Linked DNA regions of Homo sapiens: regions 1, 2 and 4 are each linked to region 3. The links are contacts of gene promoters, found by promoter capture Hi-C in human tissues and cell types (Jung and others, 2019). All regions are on one chromosome and are shown on one strand. Each heading gives the region's core, a stretch centred on a gene start or on the middle of the fragment in contact. The rest is flanking DNA. Distances are from core to core; before and after follow the strand shown. Region 1 overlaps GALNT13 (polypeptide N-acetylgalactosaminyltransferase 13). Region 2 has its middle 36 kb from the start of GALNT13. Region 3 holds the start of GALNT13 (polypeptide N-acetylgalactosaminyltransferase 13). Region 4 overlaps GALNT13 (polypeptide N-acetylgalactosaminyltransferase 13).

The links. The method cuts DNA at HindIII sites, captures the fragments that hold promoters and counts their contacts. A contact is called where the count stands out against the background at its distance.
Region 1: a contact is called between a fragment that was not itself captured here and the fragment with the promoter of GALNT13 in region 3, in 2 of the 25 tissues and cell types used here (liver and ovary).
Region 2: a fragment that was not itself captured here is called in contact with the fragment with the promoter of GALNT13 in region 3 in 6 of the 25 tissues and cell types used here (dorsolateral prefrontal cortex, hippocampus, mesendoderm cells and 3 more).
Region 4: a fragment that was not itself captured here is called in contact with the fragment with the promoter of GALNT13 in region 3 in 6 of the 25 tissues and cell types used here (aorta, heart left ventricle, hippocampus and 3 more).

Annotation. Positions count from the first base shown.
Region 1 is chr2:153,902,346-153,909,975 of GRCh38, reverse strand. All of the region lies in intron 2 of GALNT13 (polypeptide N-acetylgalactosaminyltransferase 13), which reads right to left. Among named protein-coding and RNA genes, the nearest start is that of GALNT13, 34 kb to the right of the region's middle. The HindIII fragment of the contact is 4,425 bases long and covers 2,254-6,678 here.
Region 2 is chr2:153,831,967-153,839,052 of GRCh38, reverse strand. It overlaps a transcript of GALNT13 not described here. Among named protein-coding and RNA genes, the nearest start is that of GALNT13, 36 kb to the left of the region's middle. The HindIII fragment of the contact is 6,259 bases long and covers 1-5,619 here.
Region 3 is chr2:153,867,315-153,875,019 of GRCh38, reverse strand. It overlaps GALNT13 (polypeptide N-acetylgalactosaminyltransferase 13), which reads right to left and starts at 3,098. Exons shown (of 13, transcript NM_052917.4): 1 at 2,717-3,098. The HindIII fragment of the contact is 9,874 bases long and covers 1-7,551 here.
Region 4 is chr2:153,920,676-153,928,234 of GRCh38, reverse strand. The region is part of intron 2 of GALNT13 (polypeptide N-acetylgalactosaminyltransferase 13); the gene reads right to left. Among named protein-coding and RNA genes, the nearest start is that of GALNT13, 53 kb to the right of the region's middle. The HindIII fragment of the contact is 3,993 bases long and covers 52-4,044 here.

The sequences.
Region 1 (7,630 bases), core at 3,217-5,716, 34 kb before region 3:
TGAGGAAGAGGGACTCCTCCCCAACTCATTCTATGAGGCCAGCATCATCCTGATACCAAAACCTTGCAGTGACACAACCAAAAGAGAAAACTTCAGGCCAAAATTCTTGATGAGGATAGATTAAAAAATCCTCAACAAAATACCAGCAAACCAAATCCAGCAGTGCCATCAAAAAGCTAATCCACCATGATCAAGTAGGCTTTATCCCTGGAATGCAAGGTTGATTCAACATATGCAAATCAATAAATGTAATTCATTACAAAAACAGAGGTAAAAGTCAAAACCACATGTTTATTGCAATAGAAGCTGAAAAGATGTTTGACAAAATTCAACATCCCTTCATGTTAAAAACTCTCAACAAGCTACATATTGAAGGAACATACCTCAAAATAGTAAGAGCCATCTATGACAAAACCACAGCAAACATCACATAAATGGGCAAAAGCATTACCCTTGAAAAGCCACACAAGACAAGGATGCCCCCTCTCACCACTCCTATTAAACATAGTATTGAAAGTCCTGGCCACAGAGATCCATCAAGAGAAAGAAATAAAGCATATACATACAGAAAGAAAGGGAGTCAAACTATTCCTGTTTGCAGATGATGTGTTTCTGTATCTAGAAAACCCCACAATCTCAGCTTGAAAGCTCCTTAAACTGATAAACCTCAGCAAAGTTTCAGGATAAAAAGTCAATGTACAAAAATTACTAGCAAAATCTGTACAAACTAGCAAAAAATGTACAAAAATCACATTAAAAATCCTATATGGCAATGACAGCCAAGCTGAGAACCAAGTCAGGAAAGCAATCCCATTCACAACTGTGACAAAATACCTAGGAATATAGTTAACCAGGGAGGTGAAAGATCTCTACAATGAGAATCACAAAACACTGCTCAAAGCAATCAGAGATGACACAAACAAATAGAAAAACACTCCATGTTCATGGATCTCATGGATAGGAGGAATCAATATCATTAAAATGGCCATACTGCCCAAAGCAATTTATAGATTCAATGCTATCCCTATCAAACTATAAATAACATTATTGGCAGAACTAGAAAAATATATTTTAAAATTCATATGGAACCAAAAAAGAGCCCAAATATCCAAGGCAAGATATCTCAGCAAAAAGAACAAAGTTGGACGCATTATGTTACCAACTTCAAACTATACTACAGAGCTACAATAAAAAAATGGCATGGTACTGGTACAAAGGCAGACATATAGGCCAATGGAATAGAATAGAGAGCCCAGAATTAAGGCTGCACACCTACAACCATCTGGTCTTCCACAAAGTCAACAAAAGAAAGCAATGAGGAATGGACTCCCTATTCAATGGGAGTGTGCTTGGATAACAGGCTAGCCATATGCAGAAGATTGAAACTGGACTCCTTCTTTATACCACATAGAAAAATCAACTCAAGATGGATTAAAGACTTAAATGTAAAACCCAAAACTATAAAAACTCTGGAAGACAACCTAGAAAATACCATTCTGGATGAAGAACCTGTTAAAGGTTTCACGACAAAAACACCAAAAGCAATTGCAACAAAAGCAAAAATTGACAAATGGGATCTAACTCAACTGAAGAGCTTCTGTGCAGAAAAAGAAACTATCAACAGAGTAAGCAGACAACCTATAGAATGGGAAATATATATGCAAACTATGCATCTGACAAAGCTCTAATATCCAGCATCTATAAGGAACTTAAATTACAATGAAAAAGTAAACAACCCCATTAAACAGTGGGCGGAGGACATGAACCAACACTTTTCATAAATGTGGCAAACAATCACATGAAAAAGCTCACTATCACTGATCATTAGAGAAATGGAAACCAAAACCACCATGAGATACCATCTTACACCAGTCAGAATGGCTATTATGAAAAAGTCAAATAACAGAACAGACAAGGTTGTGGCGAAAGGGAACACTTACACACTGCTTGCTGGTGGGAGTGTAAATTAGTTCAACTATTGTGGAAAGCAATGTCATGATTCCTCAAAGAGTTAAAAACAAAATTACCATTCAACCCAGCAATCCCATTACTGGGTATATACATAAAGGAATATAAATTATCCTACCATAAAGACACATGCACACATATGTTAATTGCAGCACTATTCACAATGACAAAGATATGGAATCAACCTAAATGCCCATCAATGGTAGAATGGATAAAGAAAATGTGGCACATATACACTATGGAAAACTATACAGCCACACACACAAAAAAATTAGATCATATCCTTTGCAGTAACATGGATGGAGCTGGAGGCCATCATCCTTAGCAAACCAAGGCAGGAACAGAAAACAAATACCACATGTTCTCATTTGTAAGTGGAGGCTAAGTGATCAGAACACATGGACACAAAGAAGGGAAAAACAGACAATGAACTCTACCTTAGGATAGAGGGTGGCAGGAGGTAGAGGAACAGAAAAAAATAACCATTAGGTACGAGGCTTAGTATTCCAGTGACAAAATAATCTGTACAACAAACCCCCATGACACAAGTTTACCTACATAACAAACCTGCTCATGTACCCCTAAACCTAAAATAAAAGTTAAAAAAGTGTATATAATATGTATGTATTATTATGTATGTAATTATATGTATATGATACATATGTATATAATTATATGTGTGTGTGTATATATATAATCTTAATATTAAACTGCATTAAACTTCTAGGCACAAATTAACCAAAATACATAAGACCTCTAAACAAAAAACCCTTCTGCACAGCAAAAGAAACTACCATCAGAGTGAAAAGGCAACCTACAAAATGGGAGAAAATTTTCGCAACCTACTCATCTGACAAAGGGCTAATATCCAGAATCTACAATGAACTCAAACAAATTTACAAGAAAAAAACAAACAACCCCATCAAAAACTGGGCAAAGGATATGAACAGACACTTCTCAAAAGAAGACATTTATGCAGCCAAAAAACACATGAAAAAACGCTCATCATCACTGGCCATCAGAGAAATGCAAATCAAAACCACAATGAGATACCATCTCACACCAGTTAGAATGGCGATCATTAAAAAGTCAGGAAACAACAGGTGCTGGAGAGGATGTGGAGAAATAGGAACACTTTTACACTGTTGGTGGGACTGTAAACTAGTTCAGCCATTGTGGAAGTCAGTGTGGCGATTCCTCAGGGATCTAGAACTAGAAATACCATTTGACCCAGCCATCCCATTACTGGGTATATACCCAAAGGATTATAAATCATGCTGCTATAAAGACACATGCACACGTATGTTTATTGCAGCACTATTCACAATAGCAAAGACTTGGAACCAACCCAAATGTCCAACAACGATAGACTGGATTAAGAAAATGTGGCACATATACACCATGGAATACTATGCAGCCATAAAAAATGATGAGTTCGTGTCCTTTGTAGGGACATGGATGAAACTGGAAACCATAATTCTCAGCAAACTATCACAAGGACAAAAAACCAAACACTGCATGTTCTCACTCATAGGTGGGAATTGAATAATGAGAACACATGGACACAGGAAGGGGAACATCACACTCTGGGGACTGTTGTGGAGTGGGGGGAGGGGGGAGGGATAGCATTAGGAGATATACCTAATGCTAAATGATGAGTTAATAGGTGCAGCACACCAACATGGCACATGTATACATATGTAACAAACCTGCACATTGTGCACATGTACCCTAAAACTTAAAGTATAATAATAATAAAATTTAAAAAAAAAGAAAAAAAGAAAAATTAGCTTGAACTCAACATTAAAAAAAAACAACCAGACATGGGATTAAGAGAAACTAAAAGATCAAAATAAATAAGTCCCCCCTTACTTATGGTTTTGCCTTCCATGGTTCCAGTTACTCATCGTCAACTGTGGTCCAAAAATATTAAATGGAAAATTCCAGAAATAAACAATTTATAATTTTAAATGGTGTGCTGTTCTGTGTAGCTTGATGAAATTTCCCATGGCTCTGCTCTATTCCTCCTAGGACTTTAATCATTCCTTTGTCCAGCATCCTCATGCTACATTCACAACCCACCCAATAGCCACTTAGTAGCCATATCGGTTATCAGATTGATTGCTAAAGTTATCACAGTGTTTGTATTCAAGTCACCGTTATATTACTTAATAATGGACCCAAATTACAAGACTGGTGATGTTGGCAATTTGAATATGCCAAAGAGAAGCCATAAAGTGTTTCCTTTAAGAAAATAATAAAGGGAAAAAGTTGTTTGCTCACGTTGCTAAGCTCTATGGTAAGAATGCTTCTTCTGTCCTTGAAATTGTGAAGAAAGAACAAGAGATTTATGTTAGTTTTGCTGTTGCACCTCAAACTATGAAAGTTATGACCAAAATCATTCACAAGACTTCATCTCATCATGTAGGCATTGTATTATCTCACATCATCACAAGAAGCAGGTTAAGTACAGTACAATAACATACTTTGAGAGACAAGGAGACTATATTCACATAACTTTTATTACAGTATATTGTTATAATTGTTCTATTTTATTATTAGTTGTTGTTAATTTCTTCCTGTGCCTAAGTTATAAATTAAACTTTATCAGAGGTATGTATATATAGAAAAAACCATAGTCTATATATAAGGTTTAGTACTATTTGCAGTTTCAGGCATCCACTGGGGATCTTGGAATGTGTCCCCAGTTAATAAGGAGGAAATGCTGTATATATTATGTTCATAAATGAAATCAGTTAATATTGTAATTACACCAGCTCTTTAAAAATTTACTTAACAATAGATTGAATGCAATTCTAACTAAAATCTAAACAATTATTCTTGTTAACTTGACAAAGTAATTCTAAAATTTACATGAAAGAAGGCAAAGTCAACATGCCTTTGAATAACATGTGGTAGAAGAACTTGTTTTAATAGATATTAAGAATATTTAAAAAGTAGCCATAGTTAAAATAGTGTTATAAGTGGTAAGAAGAGACTAATAATCCAATTAAATAGAAGTTGGCTCCTAAAAGACCCAGACATATATAGAAATTTAATTTATAGTAAATATGACATTAAAGAACAGTGGGCGAAGGAGAGAATTGTCCAGTATGATTCTATAACAACTGGATATCTAGAACTTGACTTCTACCTCACATCACTCACAAAAATGAAGGCAAGTGGAAAGATATAAACATAATGAGGTGATATAATGATTAAAATTAAAATTAGGAACATCAAAAAAACCTCATTAAGAAATTGAAAAACCAAATCATAGAAAAGGAGAACTTTGCAGCATATTTAACTGATGGGAGGCTCTTAATCTAGTGTAACTAACTTGTGAATATTAACAATTTTAAAAATCAACACAATAGAAAAATACACATATGAACAGGAAATTTATAGACAATAATATGTTCATGGCTATTAAGCTACATGACATAATCATATTAATCAACAAGAAAATGTAAACCAAACTCTCACCAGAATGGCTAAAATTAAAAGAAATGATTATACTAATCTTTGGTAAAGATGAAACAATGGAAACTCTTACACACTAATGAATGAAGTGAAATTAGTATAGTTACTTTGGAATACTGTCTGGTAGTATCTACTAAAGTTGAAAGATTGCATGCAATATGACTAAGAAATTCCATTGCTAAGTATATATTCAAGAGAAATATATGTACATATTTAGCAAAAACACATTTAAAAGAATGTTTATGGCAGCATTACATTTGGGTAATGGCCCAAACCTAGAAAGAGCACAAATGTCCATCAACAATACAATGAATAAATATTCTGTAGTATTTCTATACAATGGAATACTATATAGCAATGAAAATTAATGAACCACACAAAAACATTAAAGAAACTTAAAAACAAACATACATTCAGAAAAGGACACCATACACTGAAGAATGTGTGTCATATGAATATTATGTACATTAATTTAAAAATCAGGCTAAACCAATATTTTGCATATAAGGATACATTATTTAAAGTTAAAACTATAATGAAAAGCAAGGAAGTAATTCCCACAAATATCAGGAATAATGTCATCCACGGGAAACTGATGGAAAGGAGGTAATGGCTGGCAGGCAGAAAAAGTAGGATTGGAGATGCAGCAATTGTTCTATTTCTTGACCTGTGGGATGGTTACATGGGTCTTTGCTTGTGAAAATCATTGCTCTGTCTCCTTAATGCGTAAAAATTCAAAGCAAAAAGCTTAAAAGAGTAATAATTATGTAGGTGAAATTGAAAAATAGAAAACTGTTACCTGAGATAAATTTTAATAAACATAACTTTTATTTAAAATTCGCTGCTACCAAGAGCCATTTAGGTGATTTATCTCATTTAAGCTTTACAATATCCAGAAGACACAGTACTATTAATAACACATTTTGAAGGTACAGAGGCTGACGCACAGAGAGCATCAATAATTGACACAAAGTCACACAGCAAATGGGCCTTACTTGGAACATGAATCAATGAAGCAGAATGGTCCTGGAGACCATGGTCTTAAGCAGTATATTATTCTACTTCTCCAGTATATTAGGTTGATGCAAAAGTAATTGCAGTTTTTGCAAAGTAATGGCAAAAATGCAATTACTTTTACATTAACCTAATAGAAAAAGAGATACTCCATATGCTGAGTGTTACGTTTTTCCCTCGTCAAAATTAGTTTTGCATGATCGGTAAACTAACTTTAAAATGCGTTCTTTTACGGACCCAAGATACAAAATCTTTTTTTTTACCACTCTATCCTTGTTTCATTTTTAAGTTCTACTAAGGAAGGAAGACAAATCAGATTAAGATGACATGTTTACTATCGTAACTTATAATTGAATAATATAATAAATTACTGTTGCTATTGCCCAACAAGTGAATATATACAAGAGATTTATCACTAACCATAAGGTACATTTCTCCCTAAAGGTCAAGATTTTTCTGGCTATCCAAAAACCTATCTAAAGAAAGGGTAAACTCTGTAAACAAAATATGTTTCTCTGATTATTGGCAACATCATTTTCCAGCTCAGTAATCCTGGAAGCTTCAGTTATTTTTTTAGATAAATGATGGTACACTGGTAAACTGCAATGACTCTGGAGCTTGACTAAATGGCCCCAAATGTCAGGCATGGTATGTTTTACTTTTGTGACCTGGGACAATTTGCTTAAATGATGCCTCTCTCAGTTTCCTCTTGCACAAAATGGGGATGACATTAGTCATTAACATTTAAAACAACCCTGGTACTCAGTGAATCCTGCACAAGCATTAATTATTACTATTACTCCCTGAACCTGTTTACTTCCAAATAAATCTCACATGCTCCAACCCCTGCCAGTCCATCCCCACTGCTATGACCTTAGGTCTTGCCCTCATCCCTTCATTCTTATCCCTCTACAAATGCTTAAAAATTGATCTTTTTGCAACAAGTCTTCCAACTGCAATCCAGTTTGAAGATATCACCAGAATAACATTTAAAAATACCTTTTTCCTAGTTTGAGGAAAAATAGTTTCCTCAAACTAATGACAAAGTTTCCTTGAGAGTTCTTTTTGTCTTTCTCTCCCACTTACTCTAGTCCTTACTAACACAGTACCTCTCACATTTAGGAGCATGGACTATTAATTGAACCAAAGGAAATAAAATTACTAA
Region 2 (7,086 bases), core at 1,241-3,740, 35 kb after region 3:
ATAAAATAATTCCATTTATATCAAAATGAATAAAATACTTATGAATAAATGTAACCAAAGAGATGAAAGATCTATACACAGAAACTTAGAAAAAAAGATAAAAAATTGAAGAAGACACAAATGTAATTATATATTCTGTTAATAGATTAGAATAATTAATATTGTTAAAATGTCCATATTACCTAAAGTTGTCTAAAGATTCAATTCAATCTCTATCAAAACTTCAAAGACATTTTTCACAGACATAGAAAAAAAATCCTAAAATTTGTGTGGAAGCACAAGAGTTCCTGAATAGATCCCTGAGTAGACAAAAGACCAAAAGTAATCTTGAACAAGAAGAACAAAACTGGATGCATCACACTACCTGATTTTAAAGTATTTTATAAAGCTATATCAAAACAGCATGGAACTGGCATTAAAACAGACTTTTGCACCAATAGAGTAGAATTGAGAGCTCAAAATAAAGGAAAATAAAAACTCATACAAACTCAACTAATCTTCAATGAAGGCATCAAAAATACACAATGGGGAAAGGGCCGTCCCTTCAATGAAGGGGCTGGGAAAACTGGATATACCCAAAAATAAATTGGTTATATCCAATAAAATTGGACCCTTATCTTACACCACATACAAAAACTACTCAAAGTGAATTAAAGACTTAAATATAGGGTTTGAAACCATAAAAATCCTAGAAGAAATATAGGGGGAAAACCACATGACATTGGTCTGGACAATGCTTTTTTGGATATCACACCAAAAGCACAAGCAACAAAAGCAAAAATAAACAAGTGGGACTACATCAAACTAAAAAGTTTCTGCAGAGGAAAGGGAAAAATCAACAAAATGAAAAGGCCACCTATAGAATGGGACAAAATATTTGCAAACTTTATATCTGACAGTGTTTAACATTCGAAATATATAAAGAACTCATACAACACAGTAGCAAAATAGTTAAAAATGGACAAAGGACCTGAATAGAGATTTATCCAAAGAAGATATACAAATGTCCAACATGTATATGAAAAGGTGCTCAACTAATTATCAAAGAATTGCAAATCAAAACAACGAGATGTCACCTCACACTTGTTAGAAAGGTTATTATTAAAAAGTCAAATGATAATAAATATTGGTGAGGATTGGAGAAAAGGAAACACTTGTACATTATTGAAACTATTATATAAATTGGTATAGCCATTATGGAAAAAAGTAAGGAGATTCCTTAAAACACTAAAATTATAGCTACCACATGATCCAGCAAACCTATTTCTGGGAATATATGCAAAGAAAGTAAAATTAGTATCTGGAAGAGATTTCTGCATTCCCACGTGCATTGCAGCATTATTCCCAATAGCCAAGATGTAGAATCAACCTCAATATTCATTGACAAATGAATGGATAAAGAAAATGTGATGTCTATCTATAGATATAGTTACATAGAGTAGAATATTATTCAGCCTAGAAAAAGAATGAAATACTGATTTGCAATAAAATGGATGAATCTAGAAAACATTATGCTAAGTGGAATAAGCCAGAAACAGAAAGGCAAATACTGCATAATCTCAGTTAAATACATGGAATCTAAAAATGCTGAACTCATAGAAACAGAATGGAACAATGGTTGCCAGGTGAGTATCTGACAAAGGGCTAATATCCAGAATCTACAATGAACTCAAACAAATTTACAAGAAAAAAACAAACAACCCCATCAAAAACTGGGCAAAGGATATGAACAGACACTTCTCAAAAGAAGACATTTATGCAGCCAACAGACACATGAAAAAATGCTCATCATCACTGGCCATCAGAGAAATGCAAATCAAAACCACAATGAGGTATCATCTCACACCAGTTAGAATGGCAATCATTAAAAAGTCAGGAAACAACAGGTGCTGGAGAGGTTGTGGAGAAATAGGAACACTTTTACACTGTTGGTGGGACTGGAAACTAGTTCAACCATTGTGGAAGTCAGTGTGGCGATTCCCCAGGGATCTAGAACTAGAAATACCATTTGACCCAGCCATCCCATTACTGGGTATATACCCAAAGGACTATAAGTCATGCTGCTATAAAGACACATGCACATGTATGTTTATTGCGGCACTATTCACAATAGCAAAGACTTTGAACCAACCCAAATGTCCAACAATGATAGACTGGATTAAGAAAATGTGGCACATATACACCACGGAATACTATGCAGCCATAAAGAATGATGAGTTCATGTCCTTTGTAGGGACATGGATGAAGTTGGAAATCATCATTCTCAGTAAACTATCGCAAGGACAAAAAACCAAACACCGCATGTTCTCACTCATAGATGGGAATTGAACAATGAGATCACATGTACACAGGAAGGGGAACATCACACTCTGGGGACCGTTGTGGGGAGGGGGGAGGGGGAGGGATAGCATTAGGAGATATACCTAATGTTAAATGACGAGTTAATGGGTACAGCACACCAGCATGGCACATGTATACATATGTAACTAACCTGCACATTGTGCACATGTACCCTAAAACTTAAAGTATAATAAATATAAAAAAAAAAAGAACAATGGTTGCCAGGTTATGGGATGGGGGAGGAAATAAGAGAATTTCTGTCATACAGTACAAACTTTCTAAGATGAATATATTCTGAAGATCTAATGTGTAGCATGATGACAATAGTTAATAATGTACTTGAAATTTGCTAAGAGTAGATTTTAAGTGTTCTAACCGCAAGAAAACAATGGCAATTGTATGAGGTGATAGATGTGATAATAAGCTTAATTATGGTAACTATTATACAATATATAGGTATATCAAAATATCAGGTTGTGCACTTTAAATATATACAATAAAAACATTTTCTCCTTGTCTTATCACATCAATAAATTGCCCCATGTGTTATTTCACCTTCTTTGCATTCAGATGTCAAAGACATAGCTGAGATTGCATCTTTTCCAGATATATTTAGGTAATTTGCCAATTTGGGATTGAAAGTCTAGGATTAAAGACTCCTAAAATTATTTTATCTTAACCATAGATCAGGGGACAAGATAAATTCATATTAGCTTCATAACATAGAGCACATTAAGGCAAACTCAATGCTTTTGATAGGTTCACTATTCCCCCCAAAATGGCAAAGCTAAAATGGACATATTACTTAGAGAAGAGTAATCTGATATTCAATCTTAGAATGGCCAGATCAGTCAAGTCATATGGAGCAAGTGAGCTCATTACCCATCAAAATATAAGAGTTAATCTGCTGGTTTCCATAAATCCAAAATTTGTTATTGAAACATATATTTAAAGTATTTTAATATGACAGGAAGTGATAGCACTAAAATAATCATGTAAATATATGTGATAAGTAGATGAAATTCACTCTTTTATATTATGAAGCATAGACAAATTGGGTTTTATCAAAGTATTTCTATATTTTAAAAGTAAGTTTTAAGTTTATTAATTTCAATTTAAAGGAATTTAAATCAAAACCTTCAAGATTCCAGTTTCCCAGAAACTATAACATTAAAACCATTTCATCATAGAACCAAAACCCCTTTCATTAAATTTGTATTTTTTAAATGACTGCATTCTTTATTCTAATTATTTTTTATTACTCAAACTATCACTGGTACCAAATATTGCATCAGATGCTTTGAATGACAGGTAACAAATATTATAATCTTAAGTGAATTAATAAGAAAGTACATTGTTGGACATAAATAATTCTTGTGTTTTGCAATTCTATCTATCTTGCATGTGAGTTTTCTTGGGATACAACATGTAAGATTAACCACCATGACCCTGTACTCACTACCTAAAACAACCAGATATACGCTATAATGTTTTATGCTTGGTTCAGGTTCTTTTAAGTATATATATTTAAAAAATCCATCCAAGTCAGCTCAGGATAAGAAGTTTTGCTGTAAGATTACAAGAGGAAAAAGTCTAGAACTAGAAAGAAAAAGTACCATGAGAGGAGGCAACTTCAAGGACCAGACTGTCTTCTCTTCTTTTTCACAGACTTAATTACCTCCTCTTGAGTTTCAATTTTTCTTCGCGTGTCTTTTCTGCTCTTCTCTCAATTGAGTTTCTACCAATTGACTTAACTCTGCTTACTCATACTTCATGGTTGTTCAAATATTTAAGTTGAAAATATGCTTATCCCCATTGAAAAGCAAATATTTACAAGGCATGGACTATGTTCTAGGTACAGACAGCTTCATCTTGCCATGGCTCCAACTCCACCTCATGTTTTGTCAGTTCCTTTCCTCCCATTATACATGTTATATAAGCCTGTTGTATGCCTCATTATCTTTCCAAATTCATGTTCCCCAAAAAGAAAATCAATGTGTACTATAGAAGTTGTAAATGGTGACTCAATAGTCATTTTAAACTTTCAGATATGTTTTGAGCATAGATACTCTTGCCTCCCCTCCACTAAAGTATTAAAAAATTGTATTAACTCCCAATATTTATAAATTGGTAACTTTTACCAAAATATCCTAATTTTTGCCATCCCTTGAAAAAACAAGAGCTGACAACACTTGGCATTTTGTTTATGCTAACAATTACTTGGTGCTGATTAGCTACAGTCCCCTGGACAGAGCCTGTGCTCTCCAGGTTGCCACCACTCCCAACTCTGTCCTACAATAAGGCTGAGATTCTTTGGCTTTTATCTTTGTCTTTATGCCCTGGCATATTTTAGAGAAGAGCTTCTAAGCAGAAGAAAGTGAGCTACTGTTTAATCTGGCCTCCTTCATTCTTTTATATTATCTGCCTGGCCTCTGGCAACTTTCCAGTTTGCATATCTTGCAGTCTCATTTTAGCATGGTGTCCAGCCTGTGGTAGGGCTTCCCTAGATTAAGCACATTCTCTGGGTCCTGGGAGTGAGAGAGCTTTACAACAGAAAATATACCCGCCTAACTAAAAACAGCTACAAGTGGTACAAATTTCCTTACAAGGGGGTGAAGACAGGCAAGCCGGTATATTAACTTTTTCAATTTAATATGATAAAAACAAAATTGAGTATGCCTAAATCACAAAAAAAATTAATTTTTTATCAGTAACATTGTTAAGAAATCACACCACTCTTTTCGGAGTGATAATTCTGAAGACTGAAAGGTATGGCTGTCCAATATTATACTAAGAAGGGAATCAAAAAGGAATAGAAAGCTTGGTGGCATAGAATCCCCAAGCTACCACCATATTTTGAGACGTGCCAAAATATAAATCTCCCAAAATGGTTCTACCTGGAGAGTTGATTTTACAATTTCTGTTTCCAGTCTTCTAAAACAGGGGTTGGCAATATTCAATCTATGACCCAAATCTGGCCTGCTGCTTGTTTCGTATAAAGTAGTCTTCCCTTGTCTATGAAAGATTCATTTCAAGACGCCTAGTGCATGCCTAAGAACATTGGTAGTACTGAACCGTATGTACATCATGTTTTCTCCAATACATACATGCTTGTGATAATGTTTCAGTTAAATTTGATACACTAAGAGATTATCAACAATTACTAATAAAATAGAACAATTAAAACATTATACTGTGAGACTTCTTTCTTCACAATTTCACAGATAGAAGATTTGTTCTTACCGTAGATCTTAGCAACCTCAAGTTACAATTTTTGTTCTTATTAAGTCTAGAACTTTCATGTTTCTACTTTTAAATAGAAGATTTGTTCTTACTGTAGATCTTAGCAACCTCAAATTACAATTTTTATTCTTATTAAGTCTAGAACTTTCATGTTTCTACTTTTAAAAAAGTGTGTTATAGCTTCTACTTATCATGTCAGAATTACCACCATCACTATGCTTGTGCTTTGGTGACATTATTAAGTAAAATAAGGATTACATGAATTCAAGCACTGCAATACCAGGATAGGTGATCTGATGACCAAAAGGGCTACTAAATGACTAGGTGGCAGGGAGCATAGTCAGCATGGAGATGCTGGAGAAAGATAATTCACATCCTGAACAAGATGGAGAGGGACAGTGCAAGATTTTCATCAGGCTACTCAGAATGGTGGGCAACTTAAAACTCGTGAATTGTTTATTTCTGGAATTTCCCATTTAATATTTTCAGACCAAGCTTGACCACAGGCAATTGAAGCCATGGAAAGCAAAATAGAGGATAAAAGGGGACTACTGTATAAAGCCTTGTTGGGACATATCCATGCCTATTTGTTTAGTATTACCTGTGGCTGCTTTTGCATTAAAAAGTCAGAATTGCATAGCTGTGACAGAGACTGTCTGGCTTTAGAGCCTAAAATATTTACTGACACTTTACAGGAAAGGTTTGTCTATCCCTTTTCTAAAGAAAAACATAACTAGGTACCCAAAATACATTACAAAATGGCCCTTGTAGCAGAAGTGCTCCTTCTACCTGATCTAAAGTCTCCTGCTGCAGCTTTAATTTAATTACTTCATTTTGACCTTGGCTGAAATGAAGAGCTACAAAACAATATCATCAGTAATATTTATTCATATTGAAATCTGTTAGCAAACAATCAACTCTGCCATTTTGTAACTAAAACTACTAACTTTTATTTTATTAGTCACACTCCCCGGATTAGTAGTGGAGTCAAAATAAAGATCTTTTACAACTACATACCTAATTCCCTGAACAACTTAAATCCCATGATAACTCCACTTATTTTTGAACTTGTTTTGATTATGGCAAAATTGACCTATCGAGACTCTCATACTAAAATAATGAAATTCTATTTTATGCCTTCACAGATCATCACCAATAACATATATAATTCACTATGAATAGCATTTCTTTTGGAAATAATTTTTATTTTTAGCAATGTCTGCTGTGATCTTCCTTGTCCTTTGTTAGTCTCCACTATGCCTTCTTCATTTTTTCCCAGTGAATGTCAATTGTGATACAGTCAGATTATTCAGGCATTGATGGAACCAGGTAGACTTCATTTATGCTATTAGCATAAACTTTTAACATAGCTACAAACATCTCCAGTGATTATGCTCTGAAACATACAGTTCTCTTCTTTCATTAAACTTCAGAAAAAATTAATTACTTAAAATCGACATGGAATTAAAAGTTTTCCTTTATTCTGGCAATGACCTGCTCAAA
Region 3 (7,705 bases), core at 1,849-4,348:
GTTCTTTATATTAAAAGAGAGAACTTTTCACTTGTTAGAAACCACATGAAAGTATTCACCCAAAAATGATGCCATGTCCCAACTTACTTTCAGGTAAGGAGATTGAGAGATGCCACATTTCAGGGCCCCTCTAAACTCATTTCTTCAATTCTGCAATGACTGTGTTAAAGAACACCAGCCAAGTTGTAGACTTGCAAAAAGGGGCAAATTCAAGCAATAACATGAACTACAAAGAAGCAGAAGACCCCTGTTTCAATATCCCTTCTACTAGTTCTCAATTACCATTCATAAAAAATCTAAATGAAACCTCCCAAAAAAGGAGCGGGGAGGTGGAATTTAGCTGCAGGCTCCTTAGCATACCTGGTAACTTGGAAGCCTATGATCCGCTGCATGCTAATCAATCAACCAACAAGTTTTATTAAGCACTTACTAGTTTCCCCACACTGTCCTAGGGACTACATATCTGAGACAGCCTCCATTCTCACATTCCCACTCAGGACTTTCCGAACTGGAATTAATCTATACCAGCAGTACCCTATAATTCCTTTAGAAAAGCTTTCTATTCTTCCTCTCCAAAGCGGATCCGAGACACAGTGCCCCTACTTAAGCAAGTACCTTAAGCCCTGGAATGGGATAAGCATCACAGAAATGGTGAAATAAAAGCATTTATTTAAACAAGCAGAAGCAGCCAGGAAAATTCTCCATGGAATTGAAGGTGGATAGGGGCTAAAGGAGAGATGTGAAATCCTGGTTTATGGCAAACAGTGCAGAGAAATGCATCTTTTTAATGTTCAAAGTCTGCCTTAGGCTACGCAAATTCTCCAGACCTATCCAATTCCCAAATCAAACGAACAGGGTTTCAATATGAAGGTTCTTATTCTGCAGGAGACGTGGGGAAAGAAAAAAAAAAAAAAAACAGAGATTGCGGGAGGGGGGTGCGGGGGGAAAGAAAGATTAGTAATGTAATGCAAAAGTCATTCTTTGAGGAAAAGGAAAGGATGCGTGTAATACAAGGAGAATTATCCCGGAAGGTGAGAGGTCCAAAAGTAAATAACCAATAGGTTGACCTTACTTTTCAATATTCTCGAACCAGCAGGTTTCTTTAACACTAGAGGGCATGAACGCAAACGAGACAGAGAGAGAGAGACAGGGAGACAGCGAGAGAGAGAGACACAGAAAAAGAGAGAGAGAGAAAGAGAGAGAGACGGACTGAGACTCTGAGGAAAGGCAGCTTTCACATAAAGCTGAAAATATTCAAGGATACCAGAAATTTCAAGGGGGCTTTGGCAGCCAAGTGCCTTTAGCCTTGCGAATAAAACCTCTATGTTGTTATGTTGTTTCAGGGAAGGCTGACCACGATCTCTCCAAGGAAACCGCTTTCCTAAGCAATGAATGCATGGTAGTTTAAGGCAGGCATACCTCAGTCCCCAAAGCTCCTCTCCTCTGCTAGCAACACCTTTGCCTGAAGAAAGCTCCCACCCTTTCGAGGTTAGTTTCCCTGAACCCCAAAGCATCTATGTTTGCCTGCTCACTGTCCGTTCTTCTGCAGCTGGCTATAAAGGTTGGGGAGGCAGACTCTCCTCCTGGAAATTCAACTAACCATAGTCAAAGAATCGGGTATGCGGGAGGGGCTTGCGCAGCTTTCGCTGTCCAGAGTAGCAGCCTCAGTGCGCTCAGGTTCGCAGCAGCGCAGCGCCCTCGGACCCGGCAAGGGGAGCCTGCTGCGGTGCCCTCCACTCTAACCCCTTGCGCCCCTCCTTCAGGTCCACGACAGCCTGGACAAGGGCAGGCTGTCTCCTCCGCGTCCCCACTGACCCCGCAGGAAAATCTCTGCACCTGGAGATACCCATTAGATGCGCCAGGGCTTGCTCCCCTAACCAAGGCGCTTCGGGATCGCGGGGCTGGTGTTCGGGAAGACGGGGCAGAGAGATGACAGAGGGAGACAGAGATAAGCTGCGAGAAGCAGACACAGAAAGAGAACAAATGTTGCAAAACGGAGAGACAAAAGGAAAGACAGATTAACAGGGACACAGATATCCCAAGAAAGAAAGAGGGAAACAGAATAAGAGAAAAAAACAGATACATGGCCGGAGAGTGTGGACTGAGGGGACCAAGGCTCAGAAAGAGAAACAGAGGCAGAGACACACACGGCGAGAATGAGAGGCAAGAGGACTCTGAAAAAGCGAGGCAAAGGGGGCACTATACGAAGGCAACCGTCGAGGAAGACACCCAAGACCCAGGGAGCGCCTGGTGTCGGGTCGAGTAGAAACGCCCGCAACGCAGCCGGGGCTGCCTGCAGCTGGTGCGAGAAAGTTGTCTGGGCTTGGAGGCCGAGCCACCCCCGCGGAGGAACGTCACCAGAACGCAGAGGGGGCCAGAGCCGCTCCCCCCCCCCCCCCCGCCACCAACAACTCACCGGGGTAGCCAGAAAAGCAGAGCAGAAGGTGGGCGGCGGCAGAAAGTTCCGCGCCACGCGGTCCTCCCGCAACACCTGCAGCCCCGCAAGCGAGCGCACTCGGAGCTCCCGGGAGGCCGCGTCGCCAGGTCCGCCCGCGCCCCTGCCTTTGCCCTGGGACCGGCCCGGGGCGCTCGGCTCCGCGCCCCGGCACTCGCCGCGGGACTTTGCGGCACCTAGCCCCGGCACTCTGGCAGCCCAGAGGGAGCTCGTCCCAGACAATCAAGAGGAAAAGAGGGGAAGCGAGAAAGAGACGGAGACCTGCTATCCTGGCCAACGATCCCGCGAAGAGGGAACGGCGGTCCACACACGGGATTCAGCCTCAGATCAAGCCCAGCAGGCGCCGGCCGGCCGCGCCGAGTGCGGGGCTCGCCGAGTCCGCGCTCACCTGGAACCCGCGCCGGCCCGCGAGCGCCGCGCGCAGCCCCGGCTCCCGCCCGCGCCTCTCTCTTCACACTTGCCCGCGAGCAGAGGGAGCCGGCTCCAGCCTCGGCCAGCCCCAGAGAGGGGCCTTCATAGCGCAGCGGCGGGCTGAAGGGCTCCTCGAGCGCGGCCAGAGCGGACGCTGAGGCCGAGGAGGCGCCCAGAGCGAGCGAGGGCTGCTAGCACGTTGTCACCTCAGCAGAGCCGCCGCCGCCTGGTCACTTCTCCCCGGCCCCCGCCCCCCTCCCACCCCAGCCCGCCGCCTCCCGGTCCCTCCTCCTCGCGTGGTCCCTCCTCCTCTCGTAGCCCCAGCCTGGAGGCCTCTCACTGGGCTAGTATCATTTACGTAACCAGCACCCCCAGCCCTCCTCCCTCCCTGCTCCCGCTCCTCCCCGGGCTGGGGCGGTGCGCACCGAGCGCGCTCCAGCTGCTTCTGGAGCTGGCGCTTCTGCGATGTGCGCAAGTCCCGCGATACTTGGCAGGCACGGCCCCCAAGAGCAACCCTGGGGTCAGCTCCTCTCGCCGGAGGGCGCCTCGCGACCCCTGGCCGCTTTGGGGCCCCACAACGCCAAAGCCGGCCTGCGTGCACCGCGTTCGCCCAATGCACCAGGGAGCCTCTTAGAGGGGAGCTGGAGGATCAGAGACTGCCCTCGGGGAAAGCGCCGGCAACCCCACCCTTGCCGTCGGCTCTCCAGCCGAGAGATGCTGCGGGGTACTTGACGCTTCGGCGCCCTCCGCAGAAAGGACGGAGGTTGGCCTCTTGTTGGTTACAGTATCTACACCCTGGCAGGATCCTAGTGTTCTGGTTGGCGGTGACTACTGCCACCGAACGCACTGTAAGAGTACTGGAAACACAGAGCGCTTCCTTGTGGCTCTCAAATTTTTATGAAGAGGTAAAGAAAAAAGTGGGGCTTTGAATTCCTTTCTCAGGCAAGTAGGTATGATATTAAACACACACCCACTCCGAAGTACCTGGACGTATGAATGTCTCAGTTAATGTGTTGTACCAATACCCCCATGGTACTGAGTTTAAATACATGTAAAGATTTTAGAACAGTGCCTGGCACAAGGCAGAAACCTAAGACGCAGACATTATTAGCGTCTCAAAGACTTGGGACCTGTCCCCCACTGCCATGGGAGAGGAACTTTTCTAGGAAATTGGGATTGCCGAGTTCAAGTGCCTGCTTGGCAATTTATTCACTGTGGCTCTTGGCTAGTTTTGGCCCTTCGGGTGTCAGTTGTCTTGTTTGTAATAAGGGCTGACAGGGGTCCTTGCTTCTCACAGTGTCACTTCACACATCTTATAGGATGTTTTTGGCAGAATTGGGGGAGGATATAACGACTACATAAAAATATTAAACAGCCACGTTTGACAAACATATGATACTATTAATCATAATCTAGTATGTCAATGCCATTCTTGATTATACTCATGAAAGGCAATTTCCAGAGATATTATCTTTATATCTTTTCGTGAGTCAAGTATCATTTAAATTTCTATGTTAATAACTGTATTAATGTCTCCTCCTACATTGTCCATCCTGCCCTACCGTCAATTATGGAGCATTTACCAGAGATGCTTCTGTGCATGTGTGAGTACACAGGGTCCCACTCATAACACTCTGGAATGTCTCTCTACTGCTCTCTCTAGTGAATTCCAGTCCTAACATCAGGTCACTCACCTCTACATGGCATACTGAGAAAAACTGTGGACCAGGTAAAAGATTGGGGTTCTGATGCTGATACAGCTACTTACTAGTCCTATGTTTTTCAAAGACAAATAAGCCCCCATTCTTACATGTTTCATCTCTTAAAAAAAGGCGCAATTCCATTTTGCAGTCTTTGTGATAATATTTAACTTAGGCAGAATCATAAACTTGGTAAAATTTATTTGGGTAATTGGATATTTACGTAGTCCCAAAGTATCACCCTAGAAAGTATTGGCTTTTGGTGCATAACACACCATTCCAAAACTTATTAGCCCCAACCAATAAACATCTGTAATTTCTCAAAGCTCTGTGGGTTGTCAGGTTGGTTTCTGCCCTGGCTAGCTCAGTTTGGTTTAGAGATCTAGGATGGCTTCACTCACTTGTCTGGTGTGGCATACTTATTAGTCTTGAGGGTGTGGGACTCAGCTGCAATGTTTTGTCTTTTGTTTAATCTAGCCCATCATCCTTCAATAGGCTAGCAGTAGTCGTAGTTGCAGGGCTCCAAAAAGCAACAAGGGAGTGCAAGCTCCAATGTGAAGTACTCTGAGATTCTGTGGACGTACATTTGCTGGTGTCTCATTAGCCATGGAAGTTACATGGCCCAAACATAGATAATATAGTCCATGTCTTGATGGGAGAAACTATAATGCCATATTTCAAGGAGAATGCATACACAAAAATAACTTGAGGCTGTTTTTATAATATACTATAGATCCTTAATTACAAACGAATAATAAATTACATGTAGTGGATAAATCTGGTAAACATCACCTTAACCAACTGACCAAGGTTAAAGTCACCAATAATGGGACCAAGTGATATCATGAGCCTCATGATATGATGCACTGAGAAGTACATAACATTATTGATTTAGGATTCCAGATTAAAAAATGCATAATTGAATGCAATCACGAGAAAGCAAAGAAAGCCTTAAATTAAGGAAAATTCTACACAATATCTTGCCTATACTTTTCAAAAATGTCACTGTGATGAAAGTCAAAGAAAAGCTGAGGAAATATTCCAGACTAATGGAGATTTAAAAACCATGACTACTAAATGCAATGTGTAATCCAGAATTGGAGAGCAAACTGGGAATAATATCTATTAATATAAAGAGCATTACTGAGACAATCTAATTCAAAATATTAATAAAAACTATAATATCTAAACTGTATGACTTTTATTTATAATCAAATTAGTTTTATATCAATATTAAGTGTCCTAATTTAATTGTATTGTGATCATATATAAGAAAGCCCTGGATCTTTAAAAAATATAATAAAATATTTTGCAGTAAAAAGAACATAGAGGTTGTAAGGTCCAGAAATACCTATAGAGAGAATGATGATGCAAATGTGGCAACCTTTTATAACACCATTGGTAAATTTTGGTGAGGGGTATGTGTTAATTCTTTGTAGTAATTTTGCAATATTTCTTGAAGTTTAAATACTTTTTTAAAAATCAGGTAGTTATCATTATTTACCTCATAAGAATAATAACCACAATAATTTATCTGAATGAGTGTTGAAAGTTATTAAAAAGTCATATTTTTTCAAACAGAAAGTTTGGCATTTATCTTTAATCAAAGTGGAGCTATTGCAAGTATTTGCTTAGATAAATGGTAAGACCAATACTGTACAATTCTTGGCTATAAGGCCAATACAAGGGCTACCAGGCCAAGAATGTCTATTGGCCAATATAAGGCCAAATGTATAGGGCCTTAGCTACAGAGTATACAAAAGACAGGGATATGAGTTTAGCAGCTACAATTGTCCATTATGTGATTAACCAAGGCGCTCATTCTAAAGGGAAATAAAGGGTGAGATAGTTATGTCTTGCTGAAATTAAATTACCAGGTTTTGGCAAATTATTAGGAATGATGGATAAAGGAAAATGTATTATATAACTTTAAGAGATTAAGATTGGATGAGTAGGATGATGGAGATGCCATTATTAAGGGACACTGAAAGCAATAACTTTATTTTCTAAAATGAAATCTAATAATATTTTCTTCTAATTATAACATTTAAGTGGCTTCTCATTGATTTTAAGAAATTGTCTAAAATCTCTAACATGCCCTATAAGAACCTTTATACTCTGGGGCTCTGCTTACCTCCTTTGTACTTACAATGAGCTAAGCACTGCAATAGGTTTTGAAGACAAAGAGGAAAGTAAAGACAGCCTGCACAAAACTTAGGGTTCAGTCATACATCCCATGAATATACATTGAGCACTTACAGAATGACAGTTATTTACTAGGAACTGGGAATACAGCAGTGAGCTAAGGCTAATGCTCACTGCTATATTCCCAGTGCCTACCAGTGAGAAGAAGAAAATGCCTAGCACTGTCTAGCAGTGAGAAAAAAGATATAGATCCTGCCTTCATGAATACTACATTTTGCTGAGGTATGTCCTAACCCAAAGGTCTGCAACCCCCGAACCACAGACCTATGGCAGTCCATGGCCTGTTAGGAACTGGGCCACACAGAAGGATATGAGGGATGGGTGAGCCAGTGAAGCTTCATCTGTATTTATAGCCACTCCTCATTGCTCACATTACTGCCTGAGCTCCACCTCCTGTAAGATCAGCAGCAGCATTAGATTCTCTTAGGAGTGTGAACCCTATTGTGAACTGCACATGTGAGGGAACTAGGTTGTGCTCCTTATGAGAATCTAATGCCTGATGATCTGTCACTATCTCCCATCACCCCCAGATGGGACCATCTAGTTGCAGGAATACAAGCCGAGGGCTCCCACTGATTCTACATTATGGTGAGTTAGATAATTATTTCATAATATATTTCAATGTAATAATAATAGAAATAAAGTACACAATAAACGTCATGTGCTTAAATCATCCTGAAACCATCCCCTCTCCCAGTCTGTGGAAAAATTGTCTTCCACAAAACTGGTCCCTGGGGCCAAAAATGTTGGGGAGGGCTATCCTAACCAAATAAATAAGTAGGTGTGTATTTACGTCAGGTGATAATAAATTCTAGAAGAAAATTGAAATAGGCTAAGAGTTGAGCTTTTCAACTCATGCACCACAAATAGTTTATAGATATGCCATAACATATCGATCACTACACCCATCAGAAGTAGCCAAGTAGTGTAGCCT
Region 4 (7,559 bases), core at 799-3,298, 54 kb before region 3:
TTCTTATCTAGGCTTCCATTTCAAAACAGGGGCATTTATTTGTAGAAAAATAATGAGGAATAATATATTATCTTGTAAAATTGTATCAGAGTCACTCTGACTAGTCTGGTTGACAATTAATGGGGGATAGAAAGTGAAATAAAGTCAAACAAAAGCACAGAACCCTAGACACAAAAGAACCCCCAGTAGCATAAAGGGGAGATGAAGAAGGGGCTTTTACAGGGTACTCTAGAGGTATACTAAACTTGCACAAATGTAAACAAAGTTTTATTTGTCTGCTCCCATATTTTAATGATTGATTTTTAACAACATCTTATCCATGGAATAAATGCACTCTTTTCTTAAACTAGTTAATAAAGTATTAATAGGTGAAATAGTCTTCTTCCACAGGGGAAAAAACAAAACAACTCATTAAAGCTTATATAAACATATTTAATAATTTGACTTGGAGCTTCGGTTTTTTTCCTGCAAACTTCCTGGTAAAGTTGTTAATCATAAGTTAAGTGCCTTAAAAGACAGGCAATTAGAGGAAAGAAGTAAATAATTACATAAAGAACTAAATATTCCAAATATTGAATACTCTCCAATTAATTAACAGTAAAGTAAAAGTTTCAAGTCCTCATGGACTTAAAATTCATATTCTTATTAGCAAAGAAAACTTGTCATATAATATTGCTAAAGATGATAATTTGTCAATCAATATAAAGCAACTAATATAATGGAGTGTATAATCCATTAATAGAAAACACAGATGTTAAAAAACAAGAAAATCTGCCATAAATATAGGAGAAAAGGAAAAATATAATGCGAGATATAACAGGTAAGCAGAGATTACCATTATGTGTACAAGCACATGAAAAGCCAACCTGTAAACAAAGCGACATTTCCCCTATCATTCTGCAAAACTTCTAATTAATTTAATTAATAATTGTGCATATTAAAGGACTATAAATCAAAATTAAATACTATTTGTAACAAAATTATATTTTAGCAAAGATGGGATAAACGGGTCCTTTCTTTCTTTGCAGATAGAAACATAAATTGGTAAAAACATTTTTGGAAAGAAATAGCGTTTATTAAAAATAAGATTTTTGACCCATTTTCTTAAAAATTATCATATACTTTGAACTAGTAATTTCTCCACTGAACACTGTTTTAAATACCCCATATTGAGAAAAGACTTTAAGTTAAGAGATATTATGACACTATTTTTAAAAATTGCAATGTCTACTTATGAATGCACTATGATTGCAACTGTTTTTTAACTTATTCATATACAAGCATTGGAAAAACGTGTAAATGTGGGAATTTTCATTGTGCTTCTCTAATGCGTTTTGTGATTTTATATAGTAACTAGAAATAGTATTTATTATCTGAATAATGAGGAAGATATATGTTTTATTTTAAAGTAATAAGAAAATCACCAATAATAGTGATACGGACTAAATTTCTGACTCATCTGATATTTGTGCCGATGTGTACGTGAGTACATGGCACGCATACAGTCATGAAAACCGTGCAAATATAGACCAACAGACCCAAAGGACTGTCAAGGGTTATTCACAAAACAGAATAAATGAGAAAGAAAAGGAAGACAGAATTCCCCATTAAAACGAAGCCTGATTTAAGTAATCTGTTTCCAAAATTCTAACTTTTACTAGTCTCTAGTATTACAGTCTCTGGAAAGATAAGAATTTGCCTCAAATGTGAAATTATTTTAAAACTCCACATTCTTTTGAAGAAAATGGCTAACTTTTCAAACCTGGACTCTTAACCAAAATTCAGGAACTATCTCTTTCTAGTTGTATATGTGGCTTTTGTTTAAACAAATACAACCTTAAATCCATCAGGACCATATTTAAAAGTGATTATTTAAAGTGGAAAAGACTACTCACTTTTAACTATTCCCACCATTGCAGCCTGTATTTCCCTCAAATCCAATTAAATCTTCAGAAAAGAAAAAAACACCAATAAATTGTATATTCATCTCATGTAAATAAATTTTAATATATTGAAAACATATACTTGGACCCTAGAACATTATTCTTTTTTATATTATTTAAATTAAAATCACATGCAACTTGAGGTATCTGAGATGCGTAGTGATTTCTGCTTTAGAAAAGCGTTGTCTCCTATTAATAGTGTACCACAATTTGAAAAAAATCATGATTGACAGGCAAGAGAAAGAAATAAAGGGTATTAGAATGGGAAGAGGGGAAGTCAAACTATCTTTGTTTGCAGGTAACATGATCCTAAATCTAGAAAACTCCATCATCTCAGCCCAAAAGCTTCTTAATCTGATAAGCAACTTCAGCAAAGTTTCAGGATACAAAATCAATGTGCAAAAATCGCTAGCATTCCTATACACCAACAACAGGCATACAACCAAATCACAAATGAACTTCCATTCACAACTGCCACAAAAAGAATAAAATACTTAGAAATACAACTGACAAGGGAAATAAAGGACCTCTTCAAGGGGAACTACAAAGCACTGCTAAAAGAAATCAGAGATGACACAAAACAAATGGAAAAACATTCCATGCTCACGGATAGGAAGAATCAATATCGTGAAAATGGTCATCCTGCCTAAAGCAATTTACAGATTCAATGCTATTTTCATTAAACTACCATTGACATTCCTCACAGAATCAGAAAAAAGAATTTTAAAATTCATATGGAACCAAAAAAGAGCTCAAATAGCCAAGACAATCCTAAGCAAAAAAAAAAAAAAAAGCTCGAGGCTTCATGCTACCTGATGCCAAACTATACTATACAGCTAAAGTAACCAAAACAGCATGGTACAGGTACAAGAACAGACACATAGACCAATGGAACAGAATGCAGAACCCAGAAATAAGACTGCGCACCTACAACTATCTGATCTTTGACAAACCTGAAAAAAACAAGCAATGGGGAAAGCATTCCCTATTTAATAAATAGTGCTGGGACAACTGGCTAGCCATATGCAGAAAATTGAAACTGGACCCCTTCCTTATACCATATACAAAAATCAACTCAAGATGGATTAAATATGTGAATACATACCCAAAACTATAAAACCCCTAGGAGAAAACATAGGCAATACCATTCAGGACATAGGCACAGGCCAAGATGTCATGACAAAGATGCCAAAGCAATTGCAACGAAAGCAAAAATTGACAAATGGAATCTAATTAAATTAAAGAGCTTCTGCACAGCAAAGAAATTATCAACAAAATAAACAGATAACCTACAGAATGGGACAAAATTTTTGTAATCTATCCATCTGACAAAGGCCTAATACCTAACATCTATAAGGAACTTAAGCAAATTTACAAGCCAAAAACAATGGCATCAAAAAGTGCACAAAGGACATGAGCAGACACTTTTCAAAAGAAAACATACATGTGGCCAACAAACATGAAAAAAAGCTCAACGTCACGGATCATTAGAGAAATGCAAATCAAAAACACAGTGAGATATCATCTCACACCAATAAGAATGGCTATTATTAAAAAGTAAAAAAACAACAGATGCTGACGAGGTCGTGGAGAAAAAGGGACGCTTATATACTGTTGGTGAGAGTATAAATTAGTTCAACCATTGTGGAAGGCAGTATGGCAATTCCTCAAAGACCTAGAGGCAGAAATGCCATTTGATCCAGCAATCTCATTACTGGGTATATACCCAAAGGAATATAAACTGTTCTTTTATAAAGATACATAAAGGCACATGTTCATTGCAGAACTATTCACAATAGCAACGACATGGAATCAATCTAAATGTCTATCAACAATAGACTGGATAAAGAAAATGTGGTATATATACACCATGGAATATTATGCAGCCATAAAAAGGAATGAGATCATGTCCTGTGCAGGAACATGGATGGAGCTGGAAGCCACTATCCTCAGCAAACTAATGCAGAACAGAAAACCAAATATCACATGTTCTCATTTATAAGTGGAAGCTGAAGGATGAGAACACATAGACACATGGGGGCAAACAAGATACACCAGGGACTATCTGAGGGTGGGGGTGGGAAGAGGGAGTGCATCAGGAAGAATAGCTAATGGATGCTCGGCTTAATACAAAGGTGATGGGATGATCTGTGCAGCAAACCACAATGGAACACATTTACCTATGTAACAATCCTGTACATCCTGCACATGTACCCCTGAATTTAAAAATAAAAGTTGGAAATTTTAAAAAATCATGATTGACATGCTGCTATAAAGACACATGCACATGTATGTTTATTGTGGCACTATTCACAATAGCAAAGACTTGGAACCAACCCAAATGTCCATCAATGATAGGCTGGATTAAGAAAATGTGGCACATATACACCATGGAATACTATGCAGCCATAAAAAATGATGAGTTCATGTCCTTCGTAGGGACATGGATGAAGCTGGAAACCATCATTCTCAGCAAACTATCACAAGGACAAAAAAACAAACACCGCATGTTCTCACTCATAGGTAGGAATTGAACAATGAGAACACTTGGACACAGGAAGGGGAATATCACACATGGGGGCCTGTTGTGGGGTCGGGGGAGGGGGAAGGGATAGCATTAGGAGATATACCTAATGTAAATGACAAGTTAATGGGTGCAGCACACCAACATGGCACATGTATACATATGTAACAAACCTGCATGTTGTGCACATGTACCCTAGAACTTAAAGTATAATAAAAAAAAATAAAAACAACCATGATTGAGATTTAACAAAAAAAATCAGATTCCAAAATCAAATCAACATGAAGAAAATACTCTCCCTGTTAAAAGTAAGCAAGGTAGAGTATGATTTTATTCAAAAGCCAAAAAAGTACATAACTAATAAAGTAGTAGTATATAACGAATGTAATTGGTTCTATTATAATTTGCTATTAATCCAGCAGAACAGCAATCAACATTTTATTTTCCTTTTCACTTCACATTTCTGGCAAAGATATGTACAAAAGCAGCAACCTGAATTAATAAAGCTATTAACTAATACATACATTTTATTCTGTTTTTAAATGTCTAATCTAAAAATGCTATTTCAGGCCAGGCACAGTGGCTCATGCCTGTAATTCCAGCACTTTGGGAGGCCGACGTGGGAGGATCACCTGAGGTCAGGAGTTTGAGACCAGCCTGGTGAACATAGTGAAACCCAGTCTCTATCAAAAATACAAAAATTAGCCAAGCACTGTGGCAGGCGCCTGTAATCCCAGCTACTCAGGAGGCTGAGGCAGGAGAATTGCTTGAACCCGGGAGGCGGAGGTTGCAGTGAGCCCAGATCACACCGCTGCACTCCAGCCTGGGTGACAGAGGGAGACTCTGTTTCAAAAAATAAAAAATTTAAAAATTAAAATAAAAAATAAAAATAAAAATGCTACTTCAAATGACCTTATTACTTTAATATAATTATTAAATAATATATCTCTGAGTTTCTAAAATATTCATTTCCATTTATCACTTCATGCCAGTCATTGCTAATTAAAGCAATTTCTGAAAACAATTTTTCTTTCCATATTATCCACCAGAAGTTAGCTGTGCGAAACATGATAGTGGACTGGGGGAAGGTGGAGAGTAAGGGTTGGGGGAAGGATTATCACCTACCTAAGTTTGCCTCAACTATAAAGTTTCCTTTCTTAAAATTAGTCTCTATAATTGGTTTGATAGCAGGGAGAAGCAATTAGTTACTAACAGACAGCTTTTCTAATTATAGTTTATTTTTGAGACAAGGATAAAATTCTAAAAGGAAACAGTCCATACATTTTCTGTAAAGATTATATATTTTCATAGCTTAAATGGGAAAGGTATAAAGCTTCAAGATCAAAAGATCTGTTTAGTCCAAGGAAAATCTTCCACTGTTTATGTGGCTGAATGATTATAATATTTTCTTTTGATTTTGAAAAGCATAGTAAATACATTCTAACAACTGACTGACATCAGAAGAAATCAGTAGGTGTACTCCAGTTCAAAGTATCTTATCTATTAATTTCTGTGAAATGAAACTGTGTTCAAACTGAGAAGAAAATATTGGTATGACTCCCCTTCCTGCAAAAAACCATAATCAGTACAAAAATTCTCTGATTTCCCACATCCATTCAGCTCTACTCCAGCAGAATAGCAATCAACATTTTATTTTCCTTTTTGCTTCACATTTCTGGGAAAGATATGTACAAAGACAGCAATCTAAATTAATAAAACCCACTAACCGATACATGGATTTTTTTCTATATGTCATTTTAATTCCTGGTTATTCCACTCCTCATATTTTTAAAATTATAGATGTATTTTAACGTATTTAAATTATGTTTATCCTTATTATATTTCTAATATCCTTTTTTTATTCATCTTATTTGCCATCCATAGTCTTTTTTCAATTATAAAAACCATCTGACCTGGATTTTATATTTCAGTTTTTAATTGGCTCTGCAGGATATATTTGTTAGTTGTTTGTCCATGTGTCAATTGTTTCTGCCATCTTTTCCAAATTTACTGTATTTTCTTCCTCTACTATGGAGAAAACACTGTATCTCTCGGCCATTCCAATATTTCCTCATAATTTCTACTTGCATTCTATCTCCCTTACTCTTACATAAACTCTTAAGCATTCTTTTTTATTATTATTATAACTTCTGTGTTAGGTTCAGGGGTGCATGTGCAGTTTTGTTATACAGGTAAATTGCTTGTCACAGGGGACTGGTGTACAGATTATTTCATCACCCAAGAATAAACATAGTACCCAATGGGTATTTTTCTGATCCTCTCCCTCCTCCAAGACTCCACCCTCAAGCAGGCCTTGGTGCCTGTTGTTCCCCTCTTTGTGTCCATGTGTTCTTGTTTAGCTCCCACTTACAAATGAGAGAATGCAGTATTTGGTTTCCTGTTCCTGTGTTATTTTACTTACTATAGTAGTATCCAGCTCCATCCATGTTATTGCTAAGGATATGATCTTTTTTGTGTCCGTATAGTATTTCATGGTGTATATGTTCCATATTTTATTTATTCAGTCTACCATTGATGGGAATTTAGGTTGATTTCATGTCTGCTATTGTGAATGGTGCTGCAATGAATATACACGTCCATGTGTCTTTATGGTAGAGTGATTTATATTCTTTTGGATATATACTCAAACATGGGATTGCTGGGTTGAATGCTAATTCTGTTTCAAGTTCTTTAAGAAATCATTACACTGTTTTCCACAATGGCTGAACTAATTTACATGCTCATCAGCAATGTATAAGCGTTCCCTTTTCTCCACAACCTTCCAGCATCTGCTATTTTTTGACTTTTTAATAATAGCCATTCTGACTGCTGTAAGATGGTATCTCATGGTGGTTTTGATCTGCATTTCTCAAATGATCAGTGATGTTGAGCATGTTTTCACATGCTTGTTGGTCACATACATGTCTTCTTTTGAAAACTGTCAGTTCATGTCGTTTGCCCACTTTTTAATGGGTTGTTTTTTTGTTCATACACTTAAGTTCCTCAAAGATTCTGGATATTTGACCTTTGTTCGATGCATAGCTTGCAAATATTTTCTCATATTCTGTAGATTGTCTGTTTGTTCTGTTGAT